Linked DNA regions of Homo sapiens: region 1 is linked to region 2. Evidence: promoter capture Hi-C in human tissues and cell types (Jung and others, 2019). All regions are on one chromosome and are shown on one strand. Each heading gives the region's core, a stretch centred on a gene start or on the middle of the fragment in contact. The rest is flanking DNA. Distances are from core to core; before and after follow the strand shown. Region 1 overlaps SLC9A8 (solute carrier family 9 member A8). Region 2 holds the start of KCNB1 (potassium voltage-gated channel subfamily B member 1).

What was found. The method cuts DNA at HindIII sites, captures the fragments that hold promoters and counts their contacts. A contact is called where the count stands out against the background at its distance.
Region 1: a contact is called between a fragment that was not itself captured here and the fragment with the promoter of KCNB1 in region 2, in 1 of the 25 tissues and cell types used here (stomach).

Annotation. Positions count from the first base shown.
Region 1 is chr20:49,834,876-49,837,963 of GRCh38, forward strand. All of the region lies in intron 3 of SLC9A8 (solute carrier family 9 member A8), which reads left to right. Among named protein-coding and RNA genes, the nearest start is that of SLC9A8, 24 kb to the left of the region's middle. RefSeq lists enhancers at 1,196-1,696, 1,697-2,197. The HindIII fragment of the contact is 7,659 bases long and covers 1-3,088 here.
Region 2 is chr20:49,480,649-49,483,974 of GRCh38, forward strand. It overlaps KCNB1 (potassium voltage-gated channel subfamily B member 1), which reads right to left and starts at 2,020. Exons shown (of 2, transcript NM_004975.4): 1 at 1,266-2,020. The coding sequence starts at 1,832. The HindIII fragment of the contact is 16,129 bases long and covers 1-3,326 here.

The DNA.
Region 1 (3,088 bases), core at 79-2,578, 350 kb after region 2:
GCTTTAAAAATGAAGCCTGAAACCATGGAAAGAGGTTTAACTTCCCTAGTAATCAGGATGATTGCTGAATGCAAATTGAATCAAATACAAATTGAAACATTAAAGTACAATTTCTTGCCCACTATGTTGGCAGAAATGTTAACATCTGATGATTATCCAGCGCGACTGAGGATGTGGGACGCTTTCTTGTGGAAGTGTAAGTCGGTACAACCACTTTGGAGGATAATTTGGCAATATTTTCAGAGTTAAAAATGCTTATGCTTTGTAAACCTGCCATTTGTAGTCTCTGGATCTGCCCTAGGGAGATAGTCTGGGTTTGTTTTTTTTTTTGTGAATGTCTTCCACAGGGAGATACTCTTAACACAGAGTGGCATGTACAAGCATGTTCAATGCAGCACCACTGTTAATAGCAAACAGCTGGAGGCAACCATCAGTGGGGCAATGGTTCAAAAGGTTGTGATTTTAAAAAAAAGGTACAATATAATTCACATATCATAAATTTCACCATCTTAAAGTGCACAATTCAGAGTTTTTTAGTATATTCACAGAGTTGTACTACCATCACCTCTACCTAATTCCAGAACATTTTCATTACCCCAAAAAGAAACTCATACCCATTAGCAGTCACTCCCCATTTCCACATTTCTCCCTTCTCCCATCCCCTGGAAACCACCAATCTACTTTCTGTCTGTGAATTTGCCTGTCCTGGACATTTCGTATAAAGAAATAGAATCATACAATCGGTGGTACTTTTTATTTGGCAACAGCTTTATTGAGATGTACTTTGTATGCCACACAATTCACTTTTTTTTTTTTTTTTTTTTTTTTGAGATGGAGTCTTGCTCTATCACCCAGGCTGGAGTGCAGTGCTACAATCTCAGCTTACTGCAACCTCCGCCTCCTGGGTTCAAGCGATTTTCCTGCCTCAGCCTCCCCAGTAGCTGTAATTACAGGTGCCCGCCATCACGCCCAACTGCTTTTTTTGTATTTTTAGTAGAGACGGGGTTTCACTATGTTGACCAGGCTGGTCTTGAACTCCTGACCTCAGCCTCCCAAAGTGCTGGGATTACAGGCATGAGCCACCATGCCCAGCCAATTCACCCATTTTAAATGTACAACAATTTTTAGTATGTTCAGAGTCGTGCAGCCATCACCACAGTCAATTTTAGGACATTTTTATCACCTCAAAAAGAAACCACATGCCCTTTAGCTCTCCTCCCTGTCCCTGGGCAACCATTACTGTCCCTGTAGATTTGTCTATTGTGGACATTTCATATAAATGGAATGGTAAAATATATGGTCTTTTGTGTCTGGCTTCTTTCACTTGGTGTATTTTCAAGATTCTTCCATGTTCTGGCAGGTACCAGTACTTCATTCCTTTTCATTGCTGAATAATATTACATTGTATGGATATACCACATTTTGTTTACTCACTCATTAGTTGATAGACATTTGGGTTCTTCCCACTTTTTTTTTGAAATGGAGTCTAACTTTGTCACCCAGGCCGGAGTGCAGTGGCGCAATCTCGGCCTACTGCAACCGCCGCCTCCCAGGTTCCAGCGATTCTCCTGCCTCTCCCAAGTAGCTGGGACTGCAGGTGCATACCACCATGCGCAGATAATTTTTGTATTTTTAGTAGAGACGGGGTTTCACCATGTTGTTCAGGCTGGTCTTGAACTGACCTCAAGCAGTCCACCCACCTGCGCCTCCCAAAGTGCTGGGATTACAGGTGTGAGCCACCACACCTGGCCTCTTTCCACCCTGTGACTGTTTGAAATACTGCTGTTAGGAATATCTGTGTACAGGTTTTTACATGAACATGTTTTCAGTTTCTTTGAGTAGAATTGCTGGGTCATAAGGTAACTTTTGAGGAATTGCCAAACTGTTTTCCATGGTGGTTGCCCCATTTTACATTCCCATCAGCAATGAGTGCGTGTTCCAATTTCTCTATATCCTTGCCAACACTTATTTCTCATCTTTAAAATTATAACTGTGAAAGGAAGACAAATCTTGGGACCCTAAAATCACTAAGCTAAAGGGAAAGGTCAATCTGGGAGCTGCTTAGGACAAACCTGCCTCCCATTCTATTTCTAAAAAGATAGCTACTAAGATAAAAAAGTTAACATACCTCCCTCTCAATTTGTACACAAGAAAATTCCTTGTGGACAAAGGACAGAACTCAAAGTCACCCCTCTCTTTGTTGAGATAAATGCATATCTGATTGCTTCCTTTGGAAAGGCTAATCAGAAACTCAAAAGAATGAAACTGTTTGTCTCTTATTTATCTGTGACCTGGAAGCCCCCTCCCTGCTTCTAGTTGTCCCACCTTTCCAGACCAAACCAATGTACATCTTACATTGTTGATAGATGTCTCATGTCTCCCTAAAATGTATAAAACGAAGCTGTGCCCCGACCACCTTGGGCACATGTCGTCAGGACCTCCTGAGGCTGTGTCAAGGGTGGTCATCCTTAATGTTGGCAAAATAAACTTCCTAACTTGACTGAGACTTGTCTCAGATACTCTGGTTTACATAACCATCCTAGTAGGTATGGAGTGGTATCTCATTGTAGTTTTTATTTGCATTTCCCTAATGATTTATGATGTTGAACATCTTTTCATGTGTTTCTCAGCCATTTGTATATCTTCTTTTCCAAAATATCTATTCAATTTTTTTTATTATTTTTATTTTCATTTTATTTTATATAATATTTTGAGTTGGAGTCTCACTCTGTCCACCAGGCTGGAGTGCAGTGGCATGATCTCAGCTCACTGCAACCTCTGCCTCCTGGGTTCAAGTGATTCTCCTGCCTCAGCCTCCTGAATAGCTAGGATTAGAGGCGCCCGCCATGCCCGGCTAATTTTTGTATTTTTTTAGTAGAGACTGTATTTCACTGTGTTGGCCAGGCTGGTCTCGAACTCCTGACCTCAGGTCATCTGCCCGCTTCAGCCTCCTAACGTGCTGGGATTACAGGCATGAGCCACCACGCCTGGTCGGTTCTGTGTGGCATTTTTATACTATCCTGCCCAGCTGTTAAAAGGAATGAAGCAAATCTATACATAATAATCCCTGACTAGATCTCTAAGACTT
Region 2 (3,326 bases), core at 770-3,269:
TCCCTTCAGACTGGGACCTGCAGGTGGGCCTTCAGTGAGAACTGAGCCGGAGACCCCACAATGAAAGGCTGGGCTGGACAGGAGTCAGCCCTAGCTAGTAAGATATGGCTGGATATTTAGGCTTCCTCCTCTCCTCTTTCTTTTACCACAAATCTACTTACCTGACCCCTTTTTTTAGGCCCCACACTCAGTTACATTCTCCCCATGTTTCCCAAGTTGGTCTTGCTGGATTTCAACATCAACATCTCTCTTTTCTGGGTTCTCCGTGAACCTCACAGAACCTCTTTTATAGCCTTGCACACACTGTTTTGTCATTTGCTCCCAGCACCCAGCACTTCGGGCACATGAAGACAGGCCCCATCTTTCCCAGGCAACCCCAAATCCCAGCCTGACGTAGAGAAGTTGCTGATCAACCAGTGCCCTCCTGCCCTGCCTTGGCTCCCACCCCAAGCCTTCCTCAGTCCCCTACAGCCCCTGCCATTACCCAGCAGCACCAAAGACTCTCTGGCCCACTCTTTGTGTTCAAACTCATTCCTGCCTCCTCCTCCTCCTCCTCCTTTATTTTTCACATTGCCTCATTTTTCTCTCCTATTTTGAAATTTACATCTTGTTCCAAGAGCTGAAACATCTTTACAAGCTGCACCAAACCATTCTGGAAATAAACTCACCAAATAAATAAGTAACCAGGGGGTGACCCCTCACCCGCAAGCATCCACAACCAACTGCATGTGTCGTGTGGGTCCACACCCACCCCTCGGGGTCCCTTCTTACTTATGTTTAAACTATCTGACAGTATCTCAATGTCCTGTAAGCATGTCTGTAAGCTGCTTTTTTCCCTTGCTGGGGCAGAGTGAGGTTATAAATATGGAGATATTAAAATCACAGGGTGATCCAATCCAGCCTAGGTCTGGGACTTCACAGGGAAGCAAACCCTACTCCACCCCAGCAAGCCACTGTTGTCTCTCTGTGCTCTCTCTCTTATTCGTCAGTGTCCATCTTCTTGCTGTGGCTTTTTATGGGTCCCTGTGAAACCTCTCCAACCAAGTAGGGGTATAACGTCTTGGATAATAAAAAGATGGAGTGACCAGTGCCACATGGGAAAAGTCTGAGGGGGTTGGTCCTCACCTCTGGGGACTCAGTCCTAGCCCCTCCCCATTACTAATCTTCATCGTTGGGAACAAAGCCAGAGTCCTCCAGCAGTGGTCCTCAATATGGGGATGCAAGCAGATCCCCCCAGACCAGCAGCCCCCAGATCCCAGACTCACCTTGGCAGCCACAGAGGAATTGGGCTTCTCCAGTAGGTCCCAGAGTTTTTTCCTCTTCTCTGCGCAGCACGTGTTATCGAACTCCTCGCCTTCCCGCTCCCGTAGGGTCTCGGCCTCACGCTTGAGCTCCTCGTTCATCTGCTCTTTCTTCTGGTGGTAGCGGGCCTGGCAGCAGGACTCCAGGTAGATCTCGTCGATGCCCCAGTAGTCGAGCTCTTGGCTGAAGCTGAGCGCGCACATCTCCTCCATCATGTGCAGTCGCCCAGTGCGGTAGAAGTTGAGGATGGAGGTGAAGGCGCCCGGGTGGCGGTCAAAGAAGTACTCGTTGTCGTCGAGGCTGTAGTCATCGCACACCTCGAGCAGCGAGTCGTGCGTGTTGCAGTCGCGGAGCTTGCCCAGCCGCGTGCGGGGCAGGCGGTCCAGGGTACGCCAGAGTACCTCGTGCGCCAGCCCCCCGACGTTGAGGCGGACCCGCCGAGAGCACGCCTTGCTGCGCACGATCTCCATGGGCTCGGGCGGCAGCGAGCTGGTGGAGCGGGAGCCATGCTTCGTCATGCCCGCCGGCATCGCTGATCCGGCCGCCCCCGCCCCCCCTGCCCCCCCAGGCCGCTGTCACTCGACGGCAAGGCCCGCTGCTGCGGGGGAGGGGGGCAGGGAGCGCTGTGGGCTGCTGGGGGTGCAGGGGGCCCCGCGGGCGCGCGTCACGGCCGTCTTCTCACCTCCATCCCGACGGCTGCGAGGCAGAAAGCGAAAGCGGACGCGGGTCAGCAAACGGGGAGCTGGGCATGCTGTCCCCCCGCCCCCCACCTCTCCACCAGGCTCCCAGCCGGCCTTGACCTTCCCCCGCGCTTAAGCGGCTCAGTGGGGTAGGACGGATGGTCGCTGTCCCTCCCGCCGGTGCTGAAGTCCGCCGCACCCCATGGATGGAGGGAGGGGCCGCCCCTCGGGGCGGGGAGAGGGCCCCAAGAGATGCCCCTGGAGCCCGGGAGGCCCCACCCTGGGCTTCTGCGGCCCAGGCGCGACCCAGCCGCCCGGGGCGCTGTCCGCCCCTTAGAGTGCTGAAACTCTCTTCATTATGGGTCTCCCGATCGAGTCCCGAACCTGGCCCCGCCATGGGGAGAGAGGGGGAGCTGCATGAAAACTTTCTTTCTTTATCTTTTTCTTTCTTTCTTCTTCTTCTTTCCTTCTTTTTTTTTTTTTTAACGAGTTCTCTTCTTTTCCTTCCCCTTCTCGAGATAATCAAGATTTTGGGGGTGGGGGAATGGCAGCGGGCTTTTTTCCAAATCTTAAAAGATTTGGGGGAATTCCGGGGGTTCCAGGTGCCCACCTGTCCGAGGTCACAACAGACGGGGTGTGCACAACAGCCCCTCTGTCCTGGAGCGACCCCTCTTCCCAAACACTGGAGCATCTCCTGAGATTGCTCCAGCGACAAGGTGAGCCGCGAGGAGGAAAAGCCCGCTCTCGCCTCTCCCTCTGAGCCCCCAACCCTACCGCAGGAGGGGCGGGCAGAGTCCTCGGGATCCGCCTGCTCCGTCCTCCCCTCGCTCCTTCCCCGCCCCCTTCTCCTCCTTCTCCTCCCCCTCCTCTTCCTTCTCCCCCTCCTCCTCCTCTTCCTCCTCCTCCTCCTCCTCCTCCTACTCCTCCTCCTCGTTCCTCTCCCGCGATGGCTTTTTATAACTCCGGGTTCTGCGCCTTTCCCCGGGCTTGGAAGGGAAGGGGTGGGGGAGGTGGGAGGCGGGGAAATGAGCTAAATTTTCTGGCCTTTTCAAAAGGTGCCATCCTCCTACCGCGCACTAGTGATTTCGGGGGGTTCCCCTGAGCACCCCCTGCATGTAGGGCTCACGCCTTAGCCCCAGAATGGGGATTGCGCGTCCCCTCAGGCCTCAGCCCTTGCCTGCCTCCCACCCCGCTCCCCTCCAGCCTGGAGCTGCGGAGCCCGAGCAGACCAACAGGCCGAGCTGCGGCAGGCAAACCCCCTGTCCGTGTCCCCATGCACCCCCACGGAAGGCCGTACGCCCCAACACTCACCCCCAGGGCGGCCGCCTCCTGGGGCCAGGGACC